Linked DNA regions of Homo sapiens: all the other regions are linked to region 2. Evidence: promoter capture Hi-C in 16 types of primary human blood cells and fetal thymus (Javierre and others, 2016). All regions are on one chromosome and are shown on one strand. The core of a region is centred on a gene start or on the middle of the fragment in contact, and the rest is flanking DNA. Distances in the headings are between cores, read along the strand shown. Region 1 has its middle 12 kb from the start of POU2F2-AS2. Region 2 holds the start of MEGF8 (multiple EGF like domains 8). Region 3 overlaps POU2F2 (POU class 2 homeobox 2).

Region 1 (3,694 bases), core at 995-3,494, 160 kb before region 2:
ACCTGATGTGTCTGACTCCAAAGCCTACATTTCCTGCAGCTGTGCACATAAAGGGTAGATTCCAGTGTTCACAGAGGGAAAGCAAGCTCAGGGTTTGGTCCTGGCCCCTCAAGTCTCCTCACAGCCAGTGTATATAATGGTTTGCTGTGTCCTGGGGTCAGTTTGCCATGTACATGGCAGACTGTGAGCTCCTTGAGGGCAAGGCAGGGCCTGGCTCCTTTGGGGGTCCGAAGCATTGCCCAGCACAGGGAATGACCCCAAGCCAGGGCTTGGGACAGGCCTAAGAATGATGACGCCACTTGCCCCCACAGACACAGAATGCCCACATACAACCCCACCGATAGACAGATGGAAACACTGGCACCCACAGACACATCAGTACTGGCATTTCCTGAGTGCTGGTCATGCACCAGGGGTGGGTCATTGCTCTGCAGGTGTGATCTCTCAGCATCTCACATTTGTTCGGCGAGTGTCATCCCATGACACTGCTGTGGAAAATGGAGGCTCAGACAGGTAAAGTCACTTGCTCAAGGTCACACAGCCAAGTGGGGGCACCTCTATCTGATTGGACTCCGAGGGGCATGGGACATACAGCAAACAAGATCTAACGACTATGAGCAAGAGAGGTGGATGCAAGGAGAAGGTACAGGAACTGGGCACCTAAACAGAGAACCAGGAATGGCCCACAAAGGGCCATGGGGCTCCCGGTTCTGGGGTGCTGTGTTGGGAGAGAGAGGCTTCTGTGGCCACCTGCTCCCTGGAGCAGAAGAACAGGAGGGAGTGTGTGGGCAGAGGAGGAGGCCCACGAGATGAGCCAGGGATTGATCTGACAAGGTCCTAATCAAATGGTCAATATCACTGACCTGACCACTTAACCTATTGATAAGCTGGCAAGGATGGAGCAGGCGGTGAGTGGGCTCAGGGAGGGGGGCAGCGGAAGGGATGAGGGAAGCCTGAGTGGGCAGGACATAGGCCGGCATCACGCCTGGCTCTGGGGCCTGGAAGAGGGTGGTCTCCTCCTCAAGGGCCCCTGCTGACACGGCACATGTCTTATGTCTTGGTGGCTTCCTCTACCCAGGCTTTTCTCTCCTCTCGGGATCCCTCAGTCCCTCCCTGAGGGAGGCCAGGGACTGTTGCTGGCACCCAAGTGGTCCCCGGCTCCCCTCTGACTGTGCCTTAGCTTTTCACACATGTGAGAGGCTTCACATCCAAGCCTCAATGTCTTCATTTGTAAACTGGGGATAATTATAATAGGGGAAATCAAAAACCAACCTAGATATCATATGAGTGGGGACTGGTACAATAAATGATAGTATAGTGGCCATACAAAGAAGGACTGTAGAGTTGTTGAAAACATGTTTGAAATAAATTTTTTTTTACACTTCTCTCAGCTCATACCATGAAATAAAATCATTGACAACGAAACCATGTTCATAATCTGTTGTTAGGAAGAAGAAAAGGCAAGTTATAAACAAGTATGTAGCATATCATCCCGTTTTTACAAAATACACATCCAGATGGTTCCCCCACCAAAAATAAATAAATTTGGAACAGAAATCAGAATTCTGAGTTTGGACCAGTCTGGCCAACATGGTGAAACTCCATCTCTACTAAAAATACAAATATTAGCCGGGTGTGGTGGTGCGCCTGTAATCCCAGCTACTCAGGAGGCTGAGGCAGGAGAATCTCTTGAACCCAGGAGGTGGAGGTTGCAGTGAGCTGAGATTGCGCCACTGCACTCCAGCCTGGACGACACACTGACATTCTGTCTCAAAAAAAAAAAAAAAAAGGCCAGGCATAGTGGCTCATGCCTGTAATCCCAACACTTTGGGAGGCCAAGGCAGGCGGATCACCTGAGGTCAGGAGTTTGAAACCCCATCTCTACTAAAAATACAAAAATAGTTAGCTAGGCGTGGCAGCAGACACCTGTAATCCCAGCTACTTGGGAGGCTGAGGCAGGAGAATCGCTTGAACCTGGGAGGCAGAGGTTGCAGTAAGCCGAGATCATGCCATTGCACTTCAGCTCAGGTGACAGTGCGAGACTCTGTCTCAAAAAAAAAAAAAATCTGAGTTTGGGTCCCAGGTATCTAAATTTTAATAAATTATTTGGGTAAACTCATAGCCATAATCTCCTTTGGAGAAAAAAAAAAAGCTAAGACAGTCAGGGTGCAATGGCTCACACCTGTAATCCCAGCACTTTGGGAGGCCGAGGTGGGCGGATCCCTTGAGCCCAGGAGTACAAGACCAGCCTGGGCAACATAGCAAGACTCTGTCTCTACAAAAAATACAAAAATTAGCTGGGTGTGGTGGCGCATACCTACAGTCTCAGCTACTCGGGAGGCTGAGATGGGAGGATCACTTAAGCCTCAGAGGTAGAGGCTGCAGTGAGCTGAGATCTCTCCACTGCACTCCAGCCTGGGTGACAGGCTATCTCAAAAAAAAAAAAAAAGACAGATAGCAAAAGGTAATGTCCTTTTTGTTGTTCGTTTAACTAGATTATCATGGTCATTTTCTTCTCATCTCATTGAATTTCTGTTTTCTGTTATTTCTACAATGAACATGTGTCACACCATTTGTCTGTAATTGACAGACTGTGGCTAGGTACTTAGTGGAGGCACCTCTAGTGCTGTTTCTCTGCTTCCCTCTCCCTTTCCCAGCCAGGCTTGTCTTATGTCTTCCCTTATGTCCAAACCCAGCAGAGTTCAGTGCCCTCAAGAATGTGAATGAATTTGAAGTCTGCTGAATGGAGAAGAGCTCACTCCTCTGGCTTCTGCTCTCAATAGAGTGGGCGGGGTAGTACCAAGCCAAATACAGTCCCCTGTCCCCTCTTCAGGAAACTGGCTGAGGGCTTACAGACAGGAGGAACTGCTGGAGGGAAAACGAAGACCCAGAGGGAGGGAAGGGATTTTCCCAGAGCTACTCAACTGGTCATGACACAGCTGGGACCAGAAGCTGGGGATCTGGGCTCCTGGATCAGAGTAGTGCCATCCAACTACTGGGAGGGGGACAACTGCAAGAACAAGTGTGCATGCAGACTCCTGAGATAATGTGCACTTCTGTGGGGCAGAAGAGCACAGTGGGTAAACATGGGGTCGGCCACTTCCTCACTGTGTGGCCCTGGGCAAGTCACTTCACCTCTCTGAGCCTCAGTTTGCTCAAACATAGCATGAAGATAATAATAACAGCTGCCTCATTTTGCTGGTGTGAGAAGCCAACAAGACCGTGCTTATAGGGAACTTAGCAAAAGGCCTTACACACAAAAAAGGGGCAATGAGTGGGAGAAATTAATACTATTACCATCAGCAGCCATAAATGCTGTGAGTAGTAAGTGAAGGTGGTGGGTAGGTAAGGGAGAAGGTTTGTCTTGGTAACCTGAGCAAATGAACAAATGCAATGAAGACACTCAGCTAAATATATTCCTTTGTTCATTCATTCATTCATTCAGTAAGCATTTCCTGAGGCCAATTCTAGGCCAGATCCCATGCTGGGCCCTGCAATCCAGATATGAACAATGAGAGCTCCCATTAGGTTGGTAAAGGGGAATTAAGGATGGCTGGGGATGGCCCCTTATCTCTGACAGTTGCTGCCGCAATGGCCCCCAAACTATCTCTTGGGCCTTCTGCAGAAAAGGATCGAGCACAGGAGCACAAGCTCCCCATCACCTGACTGGTGTGACACTTTGGGTATGTGTGTG
Region 2 (3,330 bases), core at 352-2,851:
CCGCCTTCCGCGGCTCTCCCCCAGCTCCCCGGCCGCCGCCGGAGTTCGCCCCGCGCGCCCCGACGCCGCCCTTTGAGTACCTGGCCCCGCTGCCCAGGCGCCCCGCCACCCAGTCCTTCCCTGACTGACAACGTGCGTCCACACCTGGGGTGGAAGGGTTCTCCGGGGGAGGGGGACGGGCCTTCGGGGCCGCATCTGCCCCCCGAGGGTCCCGGACGGCCTCTGACCCTGACCCCCCTCCCAGGCCGGGAAGCAGGTGGAGGAGACAGCGGTGGCGGCGGCGGTGGCCCCGAGGGGCCGCGTGGTGACCATGGCCGAGCCGGGCGCAGCCTCCCCCCCACTTCCCGCTCGGTTCCCCAAGGCGGCCGACTCGGGCTGGGACGGCCCGACGCCGCCCTACCAGCCGCTCGTGCCCCAGACGGCAGCGCCGCACACCGGCTTCACCGAATACTTCAGCATGCACACGGCCGGGGGCACTGCACCCCCGGTCTGAGCACCCCTGCCCGCCCCTGCCCCATGGGCCATGACCGGGCCCCGGCCGGGCTCCGGACCCCTGCTTTATCCCGGCCCGAGAGCTCGCCCATCCCCGGCCTTCCCGACCCTTCCCACCCCGCGCGCCCAGGTTGGGTACGCTGCGTCCCGCCCCCCTCCCCTCTGTGCCAAACGGTCCCGCGGGAGCCGCTCTCCCCGTCCCCTCCCTCAGCCCCTGCCCCGAGCGGCGCCGGATTCTGGGCTCCCGCTGTTCCGTGACCTCCGGCCCCCTGGCCCCCTTCGAGACCTCTGACCCCGCTGGACTCCGGAACACCCGTGGTGACCGCCGGGACCCTGCCTGTGACTCTCCAGGACTCTGCGACCCCGGGATGGATATTGCGATGCTGGTCTCGACCCTGAAACCCTCCCTCGGATCTGTGACCTCGGACCCGTACTCCATCTGCCGCATCTCCATTCCGGGGGCCTTCCCTCGGGTCCCTGGCAGAAAGACATTTTACCCCTTCTTGCCAAAATAAAAAAGGATTCGTTTTTATCTATAACATGGCTTCTTTTGCATCTTGATGGTGTTCAGCGGCGGGGCTGAGCCAGAACTATGTCAGGCTCGGGACCTCAGTGTGTCCATCTGTGAAATGGGAATTTGGAACCGGAGGCAGGGGCCTGTATAACCTGATCTTTATGTTGCCCCAGAATGTGGGAACATTGAAGATGATCAAACATCTAGCAGGGTCTTGCACCGCTCCTTTATTTTTGCCTTCCTTTCCTCACTCAGAGGTAGAGGCGCCCTCCAGTGGCCCATGCTTTGCTGAACCACAGGCACCCAGAGTTTGGGTTACGATCTTAGCACTGCGCATATGTGTATTTCTCTCCCTCCAGGAGGACGCTGCTGCGCATGCGGTTGGGAACAAATGGGCGGGGATTTCCCCGGAAGTCTCCCTTTATGGAGGGTTGGGGTTGGGCGCTCCGCAGTCCTCCCAGGGCCGCTCTGACCGGCCGCTCTGTAACTTCTCGCCTCCTCTTCGCCGTCCCTCCCACAGCGGCTGCTCGGCTCCCGCCCCCTCGCCCTCCCACAGCGGGTCTTCCCGCGGCCGCTCTGGCCCAAGCGTCCCCTCGTCTCTCTGATCTGGCCCATCCGGCTTCGGAGGGAGGCGAGGGTGGGTGAGCAAAGGGATTGGGTCTGTGGGGTCCAGGCCCGAACCCCTGAAGACGGGCTCCGCCCCCGGCACCCGCTCGCGCCCCGCCCCCGGCTGGAGGAGTCTCTCCTGGACCATCCGAACCTAGCCTGTCCCGGCCCGCAGCCTCTATGGAGGCTCCTGCCGGGCCGTAGAGCCCTTCGCCCCCTGGGGACCCACCCGTCTATAAGGTCCGTTTGGCCTGCAGCAGCCTGAGTCCGTAATGCTGGGCACTGTTCATGGGATCGGCCCCCTATGGAGCCCTGTGTCTATAGGGGACTCCTACGGTCCCTAGGGTTCGGCCCCGTCCATAATGACTCCATATACAGGGCCTTCCATCGCTCTATAGGGCTCAGCCCTCGGCTTCCAGAGCCTGTCAGCAGTGGCCGTACCCTTCGCCGGGACTGCCGGGTCTCCGGGACCTCTTCGATCTACAAGGTCATGTTATGCCTATAGAGGTCGCATTTGCAGGGCCTCACCCCGGGTAGAGGGTCCTCTCCAGGTTTTTACGGCCTGTCCCCGCTCTAAGGGTCAGTGCAGGAGGCGGCGATGGCCCTGGGCAAGGTTCTGGCCATGGCACTGGTTTTGGCCTTGGCCGTGCTGGGGTCGCTGTCCCCTGGGGCCCGGGCGGGGGACTGCAAGGGGCAGCGGCAGGTGCTGCGGGAGGCGCCAGGCTTCGTGACGGATGGTGCGGGCAACTACAGCGTCAATGGCAACTGCGAGTGGCTCATCGAGGGTGAGTGGGGCCGCGTGGGTCACTCACTAATTCGCTGGTAGTTCATTCATGTGTGCATTCATCCACTCACCACATTCCCAGAGCTCGGTTCTGGTCCAGGCCTTTTGCTCTAAAATGCCTGACACCCAGGGTTGCAGCCAACCTGGGCCCTGCCCTGGAAGGCCTCCAAGTCTGGTGGGGGAGATGCACCTACACCCAGATTTACAATTACAAGACAGGAGCATCAGTGCCGGGCCTTCTGAGTAACTGTTAAGAACTCAGGGTCTGGGTCCAATCATTTGGCTTTGAATTTGGTTCTACTACTACTACTTTTTTTTTTTTTTTTTTTTGAGATGGGGGCCTCACTCTGTCACCCAGGCTGGAGTGCAATGGTACCAACACAATTTACTTACTGCAGCCTCGACCTCCTGGGCTCAAGTGATCCTCCCACCTCAGCCTCCCAAGTAACTGAGTGTGTAGAGACAGAGTCTCACCATGTCGCCCAGGCTAGTCCTGAACTCTTGGGCTCAAACGATCCTCGCACCTCAGCCTCCCAAAGTGTTGGGATTGTAGGTGTGAGCCACTGTGCCTGGCTTCTTATTATTAGCTTTGTGACTTTGAGCAGGTGGTTTTCTTTCTCTGAGGTTCTGTTTCCTTCCCCCACAAATGGGATAACAACAGTACTCACCTCATAGAGTTGTTGGAATGAAATGAAAACAGGTATTTAACATGCCTGATGTGTGGCATATAGTAACTGTTCAATAAATGGCATTAGGATTATTGTTGTTGTTATTTGTGAAGTACTTCAATAAAAGCATTTTTCTTCAGTCATTCATGTGCCAGACATTATGTTTCCCATTGGACATAGCCCAGACTGAGACAGCTCCAGCAATCCCTGGTGACTTAGGTCTTGGAGTCTAGTTGGGGAGACAAACACATTAATAGTGAGAGACA
Region 3 (3,666 bases), core at 1,061-3,560, 220 kb before region 2:
TTTTTTTTTTTTGAGATGGAGTCTCACTCTGTTGCCCAGGCTGGAGTGCAGTGGCACCATCTCGGCTCACTGCAAGCTCCGCCTCCCAGGTTCACGCCATTCTCCTGCCTCAGCCTCCCAAGTAGCTGGGACTACAGGCGCCCGCCACCACGCCTGGCTAATTTTTTTGTATTTTTATTAGAGACGAGGTTTCACCGTGTTAGCCAGGATGGTCTCGATCTCCTGACCTCGTGATCCGCCTGCCTCGGCCTCCCAAAGAGCTGGGATTACAGGCATGAGCCACCCTGCCCAGGCCAGAAGGGGCTCATTTCTTTAATATACAAAGAGAGATTTTGCAAATAACTCTATATAATTAAAGAAGAAGAAAAAAGTAGTGATTACAAATCCATAAGTAAAAAACTGACAACCCAGTAGTAATGTGGCTGACAGACAGGTCTGGAGAGTGCCCAGTGAAATTAATGTGAACAGCTCTGGATGGAAATACACTCAGATTCACTCGCAATAAGATAAACACGACTGCAATTGCACTGAGATATCATTTTTACCTCTCAGATCACCAAATATAAAAATAGTGTGTAATACCACATTGGGGAGTGTGGGGAAACACACATTCTTGTACATGCTGGTGAGAGGGTGATTTGGCAATGTCTATCAAAATTACAACTGCACACAGCCTTCAACTCAGCCATTCTACTGCTAAAAATTTATCTATTCTCACTCTAGAAGGCTGGGAATGGCCTTCTAGAGAGGTGCAAAATGACCTCTCTAGAAGGCTATTCCCAGCAGCAAGTGGCATTCTGGCAAAAGAGTAGAAGGTAGCTGAGCATGCAGCAAGACAGGATGGGTTGGATGAATGAGGGCAGAGCTCTACAGTGGAATACTATGCAGTCACCAGCAAGAATGAGGAGTCTCTTTGTGTCCTGACATGGAACAATCTGCAGGATGTCCTGTTGAGTGGAAAGCTCAAGAGGCAGAACAGAGGGTATGAGGTGGTACTGTTTGTGTCACACACAAAAAAAGAGTATATCTGGATATTTGCTTGGGTATGCATAGTTGATGTCTGGAAAACCATACCAGAAGGCCACGCTGTAAATCCATTCATACCTCTGGGATTTGAAACATGTACCTGGTCTGAGTAAATAAATATCCCAGTGTCTCACCCCCACCCACCCAAACAGTCACTGCTGATCAACATCCCTGCTTTTCGACAGCTGAACACTATTCCCTGACCCCCTGGGGGTGCCTCTGCTTATTCCGTGTATGGCAGTGGACTGGGTACTCCTGTGCTCCTGACCTCTCTAACTCTTGCTGCTAATCATCTCAGAATCCAGCTTAAGGGTTCTGAAGTCCTAGCACTCTATCCTGTGAAACAATGTCCACCCTGCCTTCCCTTTCCCAGCTACCCCCAGCCCAGTAACACCTCCATGGTCACCTCCCTCCAGATGTGGATCAACTGTGAAGCGGGCAACACTTATGCTTCAGGGCCCCCCATTTACAGTGAACCCTTTCAAGGCCCCATACCTAATTTTTGTTTCAAACATTGTCTTTTTCTTTCAAAGGGACTCCAAGTTGCATAATCTTTTGGCCCCACAAAACGAGACCCACCTGCCCTGTGCTACACGTCTCCCAAGTCAATGCATTTGCTTATGTGTACTTTTCCTCTGCCAGACTGACTCTAGCAGACCAGAGGCATATCTTATTCTTCGTATATCCCTAACTCATATCGGAACCTGGTAAGCCCCCATTAAATGCCCACTGAATTGAATCTAATGAATAAGACTAGAAATCAAGTCTTATTACCAGCATTTTTCTGATTTCCTATAACCCTTAGCTTGTTGATTAAAGTATTTGTTAACTCCTGTTCCTCCCTAGCATGACTCTCAATGAAAATTCCCCTTTCCTCCAGAAGCCTAGAGAGGTGTCTGTGGGTTTCGTTCTGAATCACCAGCGAGAGGAAAGAATGGGGAAAGTGCATCCCAGTTTGCAGAAGGTCTCATGGTGAGAAGTTCAGATGGGAAACATTTAATCACATCCCTGTCTAGTTTCTCAGACCAGAGACTTAGGGGTCAGCCTTAATCCCACCTTCCCTTCCTCTCCCCATCCATCCAATCCATCTGCAATGCAAGTCTTCCCAGTTCCCTCTACATCTCTTCCTGTCCACAGTGACTGTCCTGGTCCAAACCACCATCCTTCTACCCCAGACCATCCATTCGCCCCCAGGCAGGCAGAGAGGGGTCTAAAACAATAGAGGTCTAAATGTTTTTGTGCCCTGAATTCTTCAGCATCTGAAAAAAAAAAAAACCTATTGCCCTCTTCTCAGAATTAAAAACACATAACATATGATATATAGGATCTTTCTTTTTTCTTTCTTTCTTTCTTTCTTTCTTTCTTTCTTTCTTTCTTTCTTTCTTTCTTCTTTCTTTCTTTTTCTTTCTTTTCTTTCTTTCCCTTCTCTCTCTCTCTTTCTTTCTTTTTTGAGATGAGATGGAGTCTCCCTCTGTCACCCTGGCTGGAGTACAGTGGCTCAGTCTTGCTTGGCTCACTGCAACCTCTGCCTCCCGGGTTCAAGCAATTATCCTGCCTCAGACTTCCAAGTAGCTGAGGCTACAGGTGCACCCACCATGCCCATGCCCAGCTAATTTTTGTATTTTTAGTAGAGAAGGGGTTTCACCATGTTGGCTAGGCTGGTCTCAAACTCCCGACCTCAGATGATCCACCCACCTCGTCCTCTCAAAGTGCTGGGGTCACAGGTGTGAGCCACCATGTCCAGCCAGATATATAGAATTTCAAATGAAATCAATCACATAATTATAGTCATCATCACTAGGGACTCCAAAGGGAGGGAGAAGGGCAAAGGCTGAAAAACTTCCTACTGGGTACTGTGTTCACTACTGGGTGACAGGAACAATTATACCCCAAACCTCAGCATCCATGCAATATAACCCTTGTAACATACCTACACATGTATCCCTGAATCTAAAATAAAAACTGGCTGGGCACAGTGGCTCATGCCTATAATCCCAGCACTTTGGGAGGCTAGATGTGAGAATCTTTTGAGCCCAGGAGTTTGAGACCAGCCTGGGCAAGATGGCAAGACCCTGTCTCTACAAAAAGAAAAAAACAAGAAGGAGGAAGAGGAGAAGGAGGAAGAGGAGGAGGAGGAGGAAGAGGAGGAGGAGGAGAAGGAGGAGGAGGAGGAGCAGGAGGAGAAGGAGAAGGAGAAGGAGGAGAAGGAAAATTAGCCAGGCATGGTGGTGCATGCCTGTGGTCCCAGCTACTCAGGATGCTGAGGTGGGAGGATCCCTTGAACCCAGGAGTTTGAGGTGGCAGTAAGCTATGATCACACCATGGCACTGCAGCCTAGGCAACAAAGGGAGACACCCGTCTCCAAAAAACAAAATAAAATAAAATAAATTAATTAAAATTTGGCTGGGTGCGGTGGCTCATGCCTGTAATCCCAGCATTTTGGAAGGCCAAGGCGGGCGAATCACTTGAGTTCAGGAGTTTGAGACCAGCCTGGCCAACATGGTGGAACCCCATCTCTACCAAAAAAATACAGAAAAAAAATTAGCCAGGTGTGGTGGCGGGCGCCTGTAGTTGCAGCTACATGGGAGGCTGAGGAAGGAGAATCACTTGAACCCAGGAGGCAGAGGTTGCAGTGAGCTG

The links. Contacts are between HindIII fragments. The CHiCAGO score rates a contact against its expected background, and 5 or more counts as called.
Region 1: a contact is called between a fragment that was not itself captured here and the fragment with the promoter of MEGF8 in region 2, in 8 of 17 cell types (neutrophils, naive CD8 T cells, total B cells and 5 more). The highest score is 8.0, in neutrophils.
Region 3: a fragment that was not itself captured here is called in contact with the fragment with the promoter of MEGF8 in region 2 in 17 of 17 cell types (fetal thymus, total CD8 T cells, naive CD8 T cells and 14 more); the score reaches 23.4 in fetal thymus.

The regions. Positions count from the first base shown.
Region 1 is chr19:42,162,520-42,166,213 of GRCh38, forward strand. It overlaps a transcript of POU2F2 not described here. Among named protein-coding and RNA genes, the nearest start is that of POU2F2-AS2, 12 kb to the left of the region's middle. RefSeq lists a silencer at 2,692-2,915. The HindIII fragment of the contact is 8,120 bases long and covers 1-3,694 here.
Region 2 is chr19:42,324,034-42,327,363 of GRCh38, forward strand. It overlaps MEGF8 (multiple EGF like domains 8), which reads left to right and starts at 1,602. Exons shown (of 42, transcript NM_001271938.2): 1 at 1,602-2,397. The coding sequence starts at 2,211. TMEM145 (transmembrane protein 145) reads left to right here. Exons shown (of 15, transcript NM_173633.3): 15 at 704-1,031. The coding sequence ends at 784. RefSeq lists silencers at 1,528-1,717, 1,758-1,897, 2,118-2,187, 2,198-2,267. The HindIII fragment of the contact is 9,695 bases long and covers 1-3,330 here.
Region 3 is chr19:42,103,639-42,107,304 of GRCh38, forward strand. All of the region lies in intron 5 of POU2F2 (POU class 2 homeobox 2), which reads right to left. Among named protein-coding and RNA genes, the nearest start is that of POU2F2, 27 kb to the right of the region's middle. The HindIII fragment of the contact is 5,797 bases long and covers 1-3,666 here.